2 separate regions of the Homo sapiens genome follow, and region 1 is linked to region 2. The links are contacts of gene promoters, found by promoter capture Hi-C in blood cells and fetal thymus (Javierre and others, 2016). All regions are on one chromosome and are shown on one strand. The core of a region is centred on a gene start or on the middle of the fragment in contact, and the rest is flanking DNA. Distances in the headings are between cores, read along the strand shown.

What was found. The method cuts DNA at HindIII sites, captures the fragments that hold promoters and counts their contacts. A CHiCAGO score of 5 or more calls a contact.
Region 1: a contact is called between a fragment that was not itself captured here and the fragment with the promoter of E2F2 in region 2, in 1 of 17 cell types (fetal thymus). The highest score is 5.1, in fetal thymus.

What each region holds. Positions count from the first base shown.
Region 1 is chr1:23,961,871-23,967,701 of GRCh38, forward strand. PNRC2 (proline rich nuclear receptor coactivator 2) reads left to right here. Exons shown (of 3, transcript NM_017761.4): 3 at 1-1,592. The coding sequence ends at 7. It overlaps SRSF10 (serine and arginine rich splicing factor 10), which reads right to left. Exons shown (of 6, transcript NM_054016.4): 6 at 2,477-5,831. Among named protein-coding and RNA genes, the nearest start is that of PNRC2, 5.0 kb to the left of the region's middle. The HindIII fragment of the contact is 773 bases long and covers 1,931-2,703 here.
Region 2 is chr1:23,528,560-23,534,865 of GRCh38, forward strand. It overlaps E2F2 (E2F transcription factor 2), which reads right to left and starts at 2,674. Exons shown (of 7, transcript NM_004091.4): 1 at 1,983-2,674. The coding sequence starts at 2,234. RefSeq lists an enhancer at 1-72 and silencers at 2,080-2,228, 2,766-2,905. The HindIII fragment of the contact is 7,412 bases long and covers 1-4,077 here.

The sequences.
Region 1 (5,831 bases), core at 1,067-3,566, 430 kb after region 2:
GGTATAAAATAAGACAAATGTTTAAATTTAGTTATGTTCACGGATAGTTGTCAATTGGTCTGAAACAAATTCGCTAGGGAATCTATTTGTGTAGAACTAATTAATGTAAAAAAAATAGACCATCTCGTGTTGTGTGCACTGTGATATAATGGTAGTATCAGTGCAACTTAAACTAATGATTGTACTTGATATTAAGTGTTCTCAACTGAGTAACTTTTAAGTGGAAACCAAGTTTAGATTTGGGGAGTGGTAAAGGAATCAGCTTTTTCTATTGTTAGGGGAAGACAGTAATTTATCATTCATGGACCAGTAGATTGTTGAAAGTTGGTGAATCGGATTATAAGCTTCTAGCTAACACAAGGATTCAGAATTAGGTAAACATCTGAAGGTTTAGTATATTAGAAACACCCAAACCAGTAATATGCTAACCTGATGCACTGCTGAAAGAAAATGTGAATTTTTCGTAATAATTGCATTTTAGTGAATTGTACAGTGGGTGGAAAGGGCATTTGGAGCTCATTAGAATGAGACATAGTACACCCCAATGGCCCTGTTTATTAAATGTAGTGGATTAAGTGTCTGTCAACAAATACACCAAAACCATTTTTTATAGAAACAGTATTTAATGGTCACTCAATAGCTTTCAAAATACATTTTTGTATTACAGCACTGCACAAGCTATTCTAATAGTGCTCTGGCCTCATCATTCCTGCAAAGCTTGCTTTGGGGAGTTGGATAATGTGAAAATTTTAAGTACCTAGGGGAGAAAGAGCCATGTAAATATCTGTAATAAACTTGTAGCATATGTAAAGTTTTCTTGGCCTTTATCTTACAAAAATGGAGTATTTTAGTATGAATTTGCTGAATGTAAGACCGTGGACTGTTTTTTATAATATGGCCTAATTTTAAAGGTCCAAAATAACTTGTTTTTAAAGTTTGCCCTTGTGCTAAAGTGCCAGTGTATGTATGTTATACTTGATTTGGTTGTAAACTATATTTCAAAGTAAACCCTAGTGTAATAAGTTTTATAACTAAAAAGGTTTAAGCTGCTAAAACTATTTTTAAGAGATGTGAAATGCAGTATGGGACTATCTTTTTTTCCTCCTCTAAGCCCAAAGATTAACTAGAGTCCCTCCAACCTTATAGATTGTTGGCTTTCACAATCTTATAACCTAGGATACAGGTAGTTTCGAGTATGGTGCCAGTGATGTTTTGTTTTTGTTTGGTCAAGGGGTAGGTGCAACCCAATGGACCACTTATGCAAAAGATGTAAACTCTTGCATAATACATTGATAACATGTTTTGCCAACTTTAAATGCTTAAACATAAGCGAAACCAGTAGCAAGTATGTGGGTCAGCTTAAAAATTTTGATTGTTAATGCCCTATTTTCTAATTTGGCACCTCTTGATGCCTAAGCAGGTAAGCAGATGCCTAAGCTGTATTTCTCCAAATAAATCAAGATGAAGTACTGCCCAAGTTAAATATTGATAGCCTAAAGACAAGTTTATGTAGTACTTAATGTACATGATATGAATGTGAAGCATAAAATTAAATAAAATTTTTCCCCATTGGCTTGGTTTTATTTTAAAAATGGTTTTGATTGCTTAATATTCTTTTTAAAAATGTGTTTTACTTGTCACTGACTTGAAGCTCATAATACACTCACAATATTCCAAACTCTTGGATTTCTCAGACTCCAGAACTATGAACCACTACATTTCTGATCATATATATATACGTATATATAAAAAAGGTCACAACTAAAATGTGATAGGACTGTTGGCTTGAAAAGGGGCAACTAGTTTGCTGACTGATACAGAAGATACTAGGATTTGACAGCTATGCAGTTAAGCAACTACTTAGGATTTCTCTCTCCCAGTAGTGTTAATTAAAAAGCAAAAAAAAGGCCACACATGGAAAACATCGCAAAGCTTTTGAAAGTTAATTCCATGATCTAGGTTCATAGAAAAAAAATTATAAGCAAATTTATCAAGTTGACAAGAACCCTTGTGTTTTAAGTATGTTGACAAATGAAAAGTATATAAGGGGACCCCTCAGAAGAAAAGCATCACAACCACACCTTTCTGATACAGATTCCAAATGATAGGGCATCTTAAAACTAGTTTGAGTAATCCTTAAAATGCTACAACTAGTCCCATGGCAAAGCTGTATTATTTTCATGCAAACTAGTTAACAATTTGGAGTTAAGGCAGAACCAGCATTTGGGTGTTCATTTTGTTTCCAGGGTAATTTCTGTGAACAATGCCAAGGATTGCAGAATTGAACTTCATGTATTGGACAAATCTCAGCCTAGGTGTCTGTTAGTTTTTAAGCTATATATTGAATCTAGTGTATATATTGAATACACTAGATTTTTAGTGACTAATCTAGTAATACACTAGATTTTTGGTTTGACTCAAGCAAAATGAGTAAATGGAAGTGGGAGTGGAAGATTACCTAACTTCATACTTTAGGAAAGGTACTGATAAAAGTTTTGGTTAGCCTATATAGAGAATGGTGATAGGAATTTCCCAAGTCGATGCAATTGCGAGAACCAAAAATAGCTGGTACAGAGAACTTACCATGTAAGGCTGCTGAAGTCAGCCATACTGTGAACCTTAGGTAAATGCTGTAATTTCAATTTGTCTTCTTTTCGATGGCAGTTATACTATGATGGAATCCAGGTCCAAAACCTATCCTTAAGCTTAAAATAAATACTAATAAACTATCCTCTTCCCTAGAACTACAACACAGGAAAAAACCTGAAAGGTTTTGTGTAAGTTTCAGTTTCTAGTATTTTGGTTGCATTCTTGTAGGCAATTTGTAAAGCAAGAGGGACAGAGTGCATCTCTAAAACCTCTTACACAAATTAGGAAAAAGTTGTACCCAGGTGGTTACAAATCTAAGAGCAAAATCTTAAAAAAACCCAAGATTTATTTTTGGCTCCTAGACCAGTTTATTTCACTTTCCAGCATTCAAAGAAATGTGATCTGCAAAAAACTAGATACAAAGGCCTTTTACTTCTTTACAAACTACGGTTAGTTCTCAATGAATTTACATGCCTCACTTTTTATTCCAAGAAAAATCCCCATTATGCAATACAAGGGTGAAACAGCTGTTACAAATACACAGAAACATAATAAAGATAACCAACACTGTTAAGAGGAAGGGGAAGAGGAAAAAACCCAAGAGAAGGAAACTTTTCCACAGTGACTAGCAGAATGTCTTGTAGATAGCAATAACCGAAGACAAACAGGTTGCTCACTTCATCCTATTTATCAAGTCATCCTATCTAAAATGAGAATAGTTCATGCCTAGGATAGGCTAACTATAGGCTTTGCTAGTCCTCCTTCCTAATAGAATGCCCTCAGATTATTCCTGAGCTATCACTCAAGTCACAGATACTTCAGAATATAATCTTAGGTTTTGTAAACAGGAACATGGTCAAAATGCAATACAATGGAAAATCTCTACAAGAGAATGAGATTTGGAAAGCCATGCTTAGAGTCTCTGAGCCACACAACCATAAGATCTTCGAGTACGTTTAATCTCTCATCCAGGAACATTATCCATTTACCTTGTAAGGTTGTGAGAAATGAATAGCATAATATGCAAGAAGCTATCACATGATGGGTATTCTACAAAGGACAATTTTCTCATCTGTAAAATGGGAATAATACCCATTTCCCAGGAGTGTTTTTAGGATTAAATAGAAATATTTGAAAAGCACATGGTTCGGCACAGTAAGTGCTCAATAATATTGACAGCATTCAGTATAGAGAGAAACAACCACAGAAGAGATCCTAAAGCAATTCATTCAACAGATGCAAAAATTAAAGGGCCTTTTCTGATTTACCATAATTAAATATTTTAGAGAACTACCAACTGTTGTTATTGTAGTTATATATGTATTTACCTAATTTTTTTTAAACAAAACCCCAACTCAATATGCACCTTAATTCTCCCCCTTAAATGTCTTAACTTCAAAAGGAAATGGAGAAGGGAGGTAGAGGGCAAAAAAGTCTATAGCCTCTACATATTCTTTTAAAAATACATAGAACCTCTGTCCATAAGAACCCCTATGTTAATGAGTGTATAACGGTATACAACAAAATACTTTTTGTAATTAAATCTAGTCACTTTGACTCTAAGTAAATTCTAGATCCCATTATATCAATGTTACTATCTCCATGAAAATAAAGCTATAAAAACACTTCCCCATTGGATTAAACAACAAACATGGTAACAAAAGATGAAACAAGTGAAAAATTATGGGCTGTAACCTAGGATCTGACACTTGCTGTGTGATCTTGGGCAAGTTCAAACAAAATTTCTAAAATAAAATACAAACAATAATACCTCCATTTCACACCTCCCTTGAAAATATACCTCTGCTATATTTTCAAAATTGCTACAAATTAAAAGCTTAAATTCCACTTCCAGATTTTTAGTTAATTTTATATGGAAAATTTTAAGTATGTGGCAAAAAAGATGACAAAAATCAAATGTGATGAAATCAATGTATAGGTAAAGAAACATCATATCCTAATAAGAAACTAAGGAATCCAAAACATTTTGTGATACTATAAAAGTTATTTATTCGCTATACACAGAACATGTCCCCTATAAAATGTACATGTAAATCACTAAAAAGTATAATTTGGTGAACATTTTCTCAATTACAGAACATACTAAATCAGTTAGGATAACAGCTCTCTGTCTGCCTCAAAATAATCTAATTATAGCACCCAGTCTCCTTTATACCTAATGCAAAGTTAAATACTTATTTTGGGGGTTATATCCTAGCATGTGTTTGGTGAGGCAGAGTAAACAATTTATTATAACTCTAGTATATTACAGTCACTGCACAATAAACCAGTTTATTACAGATTAAATCATTTTTTCATTATTTATAATAATGTGATCAAATACTGGATACTTTTAAATGGCAGATAACCACACAATTACTTATCCTTGATCGTATATTGTGTTCTATAATTACATTGATACGAATGGTGTAAAATATTGTTATGAATAACACACCTCAAACAAAACAATGAGGCCATACTGTAATGATTCACTAGATTGTGCTCAGTAGACATTTACTGAATAAGGGAATTATCTATTTTTCTCAATTATCCAGTACAATGATTTGCCCACAGTAAGGGCTCAATAAATATTTGCTGAATATACTGACTAGGAAAGAGGTGAGAAGAGATGGGCCCTCTTAGCTGGATGTCAAATATAATTGGAATTTACCTGGGAAGGAGTAGTTAAGACAGATGTAAACTGCATGTGGTGTACAAGTAAATAAACACAGATGCCAACAAAGCAAATGATTAAGCAGAAAACACTGGCACCAAAATAAACAAAGGCAAGATTTGCCAATAATGGCAAAAATGGAACTTTTATATTGGACCATACCTTTTCCCACCCAATTCAGTTTGAGACAGACCAACAGAGGCACTGTAAGAGACTATGGCTGTCTTCCTTGATATTCAGACATCCTAGTTTCCAATAATTTATTATGGACCTGTTACCCATGAATCAATATAAACCTATTCATATTTAGGGATTAGTTTCCACAAGTACAAAGTTGAATTTCCTTTTATTTGTCCTAAAATGCTTACTTTCAAACTTGAAGGGACTTCAATTATTCCATGTAGTTTTCGATAACATTCTTTTATCTTTTCAGACCAGAGTCAAAATATTCGTACAGTATTCATACTGCAGCACCTTCCACCCACCCTTTGGTCGCTTGAACTGCCCTTCTTTGGTTCTTTTTCCGCTTTCAGATCTTTCTTGAAGTGTAGTAAGCAGAACTGTACTG
Region 2 (6,306 bases), core at 1,424-3,923:
CCTTTCTTTGCTCAGTTTCCTTATCTGCAAGGTGCCTCATTCTGGACATCCTGACCAAGATAATGAACGTGAAGAGTGCCAAGCAGTGTCTGGCACACGAGAGGCACTCAGTAAAAGAGAGACCTTCTTGCTAAGATCACTGAGCCCTTCTGGGAGGGAGGTACAGACAGATGTACTTGGGCTCCTCTGGGAGGGTTCAAAGCAGTGTAAAACCACAGCTGTTACTGAAACTTCCAGTCTGAAAGCAGCTGGCCAGAGGAGAGTGGGCCTGCCGCAAAGCTCCCTTCCCTGGGGGGAGCTCAGCTCCTAAGTTAGGCAGTATTAAAAAAAGTCAAGGCTACATAGAGAAGAGCCTGCTGCCTGACCAGGTGCATTAGAGTAGCTAGCTCATGCCTGTAATCCCAGCACTTTGGGAGGCTGAGGCAAGAGGATTGCTTGAGCCCAGGAGTTTGAGACCAGCCTGGGGAACATAGGGAGACCCCTGTCTCTACAAAAAATAAAAAATAAAAGACAGAAGAGCTGACTGCCTTGTGAGTCCCATCACTCTACCCCATCCCCATCTCTGACCTTAGGTCACATCCCCTCTCTGAGCCTCAGTTTCCCCCTGTAACATGGAGCTATTAATGCCATCTATTTCACGAACTACAAAGATGTTTTAGGCTATAAAACACTGAACACAAGATACCCAATCCCAGTTATCCTCGGTTGCTTAACCTGTAAAATGGGGATAATACCATTCCTGCCCACTGCCCTCCTAGTTAGAAATCATGTGCAGGAAGGGTCTCCAGGAAGGTTAACGTTTTGAACATGGGCAAAGCCTGAGTCCACTGGCAGGGAGTGGTGGCTCTGCCTGCATCCAGAGCTGGCTGGGCATCCGTGCTTGCTGACTAGCACAGGTCTGACCAGATGCCTCTGGGGCAGTGGGGGGTGGTCTTATCCCTGTACCCGAACTTATTCACCAAACTCACAACTAAGCAAACCTACAACACCCCCTTCCTCTCCCTGGAGCCTGCTTCCAAAACCCAGGACCTGGAGCTGAATGTGGCTGAGAAGAGCTAGCCCCACAGCCACCCTGTGCACACACGCATTGTGAAGGAGAGAACACTGAAGCCCAGACTGGGTCCAAGACTTGTCCAAGGACACACAGAGAATTAGTGGCAGAGTCACACCAGAAACCAGGCTCCTCAACCACCACCACCTCCACTCCCCCAGGCTTTTCCCACTCCACCCCCCACCCTAAAGTTGTTTTGATTCACACGGGCTCCAGGAATTCCACTCCCACAAAACACACCCTGAGCCCAGGTCAGCAGGCAGCCTGGTGCCACTACACTTTGGGCCCTCTCTGGCAACGAGCCTGGGAGCTTGAGGAGAGAGCAGCCAATCTGAACAGAACCCAAGGGGGCTGCCCACATTTGTATCTGCTACATGGCTGTCTGGGAGGGAAGACTGGGCCTGGGGGAGGACCTAGGGCAGATACTTGGGGCTATCTCAGGAGCTGGCTGGACAATTTGGAGTCTGTCCATGGCAGATTGGATGTGAGAGACCCACTAGACCTATCCCTCTGTCTTACCAAAGTCCCACAGTGTCCCCAGGCCATACTCTTTGCCTGGACAATAGCAGGCACCCAGTACTGGTTTCTGGCCAAACAATGAAGTAATGAATGAATGGCGGCAACGCTGGCTGCATGGACTTCCCCAAGGTCACACAGTGCACTGGGAGTAGTGAGTTGGGTCTCCCTCCAGACTCGCAATCCAGTGCTCATTCCACTCCACTAGAATGGATGAGATTATTTCATCCAAAGTCTGAAAATGAAGGGGTCTTCTACTCAGATATTGGGGGCACTGGGTCCTGGAAACTGAAAGCTCATCTTCCCTCTTCCCAAAACTCTACCTGCTCCACTCAAACTGGATCTCAGGCACCCCTCCCTCCTTTCCCACACCTGGAAAAGCATAGGGGGAAGCGGTGGGGGCCCCCAGCATTACCGGCAGCCGGCCTGCCGGCAGGCATCGCACAACTTGGCCCTCGGGTCCGTGGGGAGTGGCGTCGAGGCAGGTGCCTGGCGCCGCTGCGGGAGGCGCCGTCTGCGGGTACAGCGGTGTGTAGTAGGTAGCAGTAGCTGGGCAGAGCTGGGGGCTGCTGAGGCCGGATGGCCACAGCTCTGTGGGGCTCATCGCGGGCACCACCTTCGGGGTCTGCCCAGCGGCCGAAGCCAAGGCCCGGGGCCCTTGCAGCATAGCGAGTAAGGCGCCCCCTACCCAAAAGGGCTTGGCGCGCCCGCGGACACCTGCGGGTTCCGGTGCTGCCGCCTTTCACACGGCCCGCGGCATGGCGCGGAGGCCGGGGGAAGCCGCCAATGGACGCCTGCGGGGCAAGGCCGGACCCTCCCCTCCTGGCCCGCGGCCGAGCAGAGAGCAGCGCTTAGAGATCGCCGCTTGGAGATCGCCCGGCGGCTGCGGTGGTGGCACTGCCAGGGGCTGTCTCGTCCCGAGGGCACCGCGACCCGGGACGCCCCGCGCTCCCCAAGGCCTCGGCACCTGGGGTCCGGCCGGCTCTGGGGAGGGGTCCCCGGCGTGCCCTCAAGCTCGGCGGAGACGCGATGCGCTGGGATGGGGAGGGGGGTCTCGACTGCACCGACTTCCTTGCGGCTCGCTCTCTAGTCCTTGAGTCTTTCTCTGCCTCTTTTTTTTCTTCTTTTTTTTTTTTTTTTAGCGCCAAACGTCGTGCCGCGAAATTCGGATCTCCCGCGGAAAATGCCGCGCTCCGGTTGGCTGCTGCGACAGTACAGGCTCCACCCCCCCCCCCCCCCCCGGAAAGAACGCGTCCTCGAGGCGGCGATTGCAACACTAGCTTCGCTGCTTAAAGGGGCAGCCACACCTGCTGTTGGTGCCGCCAGCCGCCGGCCGCGCTAGTTAGCAGCCGGCGAGACGGAGACAGAGGGTGGTTCCGGGATTCACAGTGCAGAGGCGGCCAGAGCAGTGCACAGCGCCCCGAGAAATGGGCCCGGATTCCCTGGGATTGAAGGGAAACATTTTGGCGCGGGGTCCCAGCCTGAGCCCAGACCCAGCAGTGTATTCCCCAGGCCACAGGCCCTTTTGTTAGTTTGCATTGTTGCTTAGCTAGCACATGTGCATTCATATCCCCTTTCCTGCTAAAATGAAGGCCAGGAACCTGTTCCCTTTAATGGCAGAGGGGTGAGGGACGGAGGCAAACTAGTCTACTTCTTTGTAGGGAAAACTAACATCTATTCAGCGCCTACAGGATGCCAGGCACCATGCTAGATCCTTACAAGCGTTGTTTTAGTTAATTTATTCCAACAATCCTGGGAAGAGGAATGATGATCCCCATGATAAAGACTGACAGTCTGAAAGGCTGGGTAACTTGCCCAAGGTCATACAGAGAGATTCCCTGATTTGAGAGCTGGCAACAGAATCTGGGACAGGTCCCAGCTCTGGAGCCCTTGTTTTTCCAGTTAAGGGGTTCTTCTACTCTCCCAAGCTGCCTGGGGGCACAGCAGGGTCAGAGTCCCACTGCAGAGCTTTGTCTTGTTCACAGTTGTATTATTAGGACCCAATACTCAGTAAATGTTTGAACATCTCTAGGTTTCTTTTAAACAATCCTTTTGTCACAAGAGCCTCTCTGCCTCATTCAAAAACCTTCATTGCTGATAATACATTCCTCATCACTCCGGTTTAGAGAGGCTCAGAGAAGCAAACTTGGGTAGTGAGTGGTAAAAAGTTGCTAGAAGCTGCTGCTAGATTTCAGGTCTGATTTCTTGCCTGGTGCTGTGTGATTTTTATGCAAGTCTGAGCCTTGGCATTCAAAGCCCTCCAGAGACAGTCCACAGCTTAATTCCTCATTAGATGGTTGAGGCCAAGGTGGCAATAACCCATGATGATTAAGAGCCCAGGCTTTGTAGCCAACAGCCCCGAATTCAAACCCAGGCCCAGACACTTTATTATTCATTGTGTGACCAAGGCAAATTTTGTAAATTCTCTGATCCTTGATCCTTGATTTTCTCCTCCTAATAGCACTTACCTCATATGATCATGAGGAAATCTCATGAGATAATGCATATAAAGCTTTCATCACAGAACCTGGATCATAAGGAGCCTCAAGAATTGGCAGCTGTTGTTATATCTCTGACTTTTTTTTTTTAGACAGAGTCTCACTCTGTCACCAGGTTGGAGTGCAGCGGTGCAATTCTCCTGCCTCAGGTTCAAGTGAGTCTCCTGCCTCAGCCTCCCGAGTAGCTGGGATTACAGGCGCCAGCCACCATGCCTGGCTAATTTTTGTATTTTCAGTAGAGGCAGGGTTTCACCATGTTGGCCACGCTGGTCTCGGACTCCTGACCTCAGGCAATCCGCCCTACTTGGCCTCCCAAAGTGCTGGGATTACAGGTGTGAGTCACCGCTCCCGGTCACATCTCTGACCTTATCTCCAGTGCATAAGACCCTTTTACTCTAGTCTACGTATCTCATTGGTCCTTTTTGGTCCTTTGAGGGCCAGCTTAAATCTCACCTCCTCCAAGAAGCCTCCCCTGCCTGCTTCCTCTCAGCCAGAATGGCTCTTACCCTCTTGGGACCCTTAGTGTGTTCTACCTCAACAAAACAAGGCTTCGTTTTCATACCTTGTTTATCAGTTAGGTTCTATGCTCCTTCAAGAATCTAGGTCAGATCTCTCTAGAATGCCCCTTAGCATCTAGGGCCTGGCTTGGAGTGCAGAAGGCAGGTAATAAATACTGATTATGATTCACTCATCTGCCTGGCTGCAAAGAATAGGAGAAGTTAATGAGATCTGAAGTCAGAAAGTCAGGAGGCCCAGATTAAGTAAGTCCCGCTCTCTACTTCCTAGTTAAGTGACACTGGACAGCCGCTGCTTCACTTCTCTTAACCACAATTTCCTCAACCATCAAATGTGGATAATGCTATCACTCAGTCAATTTCACATTACTTCAGAGACACTACTTAAATGACAGTGGTGGCGATGATCACTGATTTTTATTGAGAACCTACTATACACTGGGCTCTAAGCACCTTGAGCCCCTCCTCTGATCCTCACAACACTGCTCTGAGACGGACACTATTATTATCCCCATTTTACAGATGAGGGAACCTGGAAGGAATTGTGGCAGAGCAGGTTTGGGGAAGCAGCAGGGCCCCAGGGCCAGGGAGGGAAATGGGGGTGGCAGGGTGGAGCTGGGAGAAAAGAAGGGAGCCAGTGAGGGGCTGAGAGCCAGCTCTCTGTGGTTGAGTTTCGGGCAGCTGGGGCTGGCTTTAGAGTTTCACTGCCTGGGAACTGACTAATTCTTGCAATAGGTGTGGGGCACAGATCTGAAATCTGCCTCCCTGAGCTTGAATTCCTGCCCCATTCATTCCTAGCATTGTGATCATGGTCAGGTTGCTGGACCATTCTGAGTCTCAATTTCCTCATCTTTGAAATGGAGGCGGCACAAGTGACCTCTCCATTTACTGTGAGGCCTTAGTAAGGTGTTGGTTATAAAGTCCTTAGAGAAATGTCAGGTGCATGGTAGGTACTTAATATATTTTGGCTAAGGTTTATGTGAAATGGACCCGAAGAGGCCCTCACATGGAACCAGACTAAATACTTGCAGTTTCAGGCCGGGCACATTGGTTCATGCCTGTGAACCCAGCACTTTGGGAGGCCAAGGTGGACAGATCTGTTGAGCCCAGGAGTTTGAGACCAGCCTGGGCAACATGGCAAAACTCTGTCTCTCCAAAATACAGAAAAATTAGCTGGGCGTGGTGGCACACGCCTGTAATCCCAGCTGCTCGGGAGGCTGAGGTGGGAGGATCACCTGAGCCCAGGGAGGTCAAGGCTGCAGTGAGCCATGATCATGTCACTGCACTCCAGCCTGGGTGACACAGTAAGACTGTCTCAAAATAAACAAACAGGCCGGGCACGGTGGCTCATGCCTGTAATCCCAGCACTTTGGGAGGCCGAGGTGGGTGGATCACTTGAGACCAGGAGCTTGAGATCAGCATGGTCAACATGGCAAAAACCTGTCTCTACTAAAAATACAAAAAAAAAAAAAATTAGCCAGGCGTGGTGGTGTGTGCTTGTAATCCCAGCTACTCGGGAGGCTGAGGCAGGAGAATCGCTTGAACCCAGGAGGTGGAGGTTGCAATGAGCCAAGATCGTGCCACTGCACTCCAGCCTGGGTCACAGAGCGAGACCCTGTCTCAAACACACACACACACATACACACACACACACACACACACACACACACACAAAACCCTCAGAGTTTCTGCCGTACACGCCCTACACTTTCCCATCTCCCAGGCT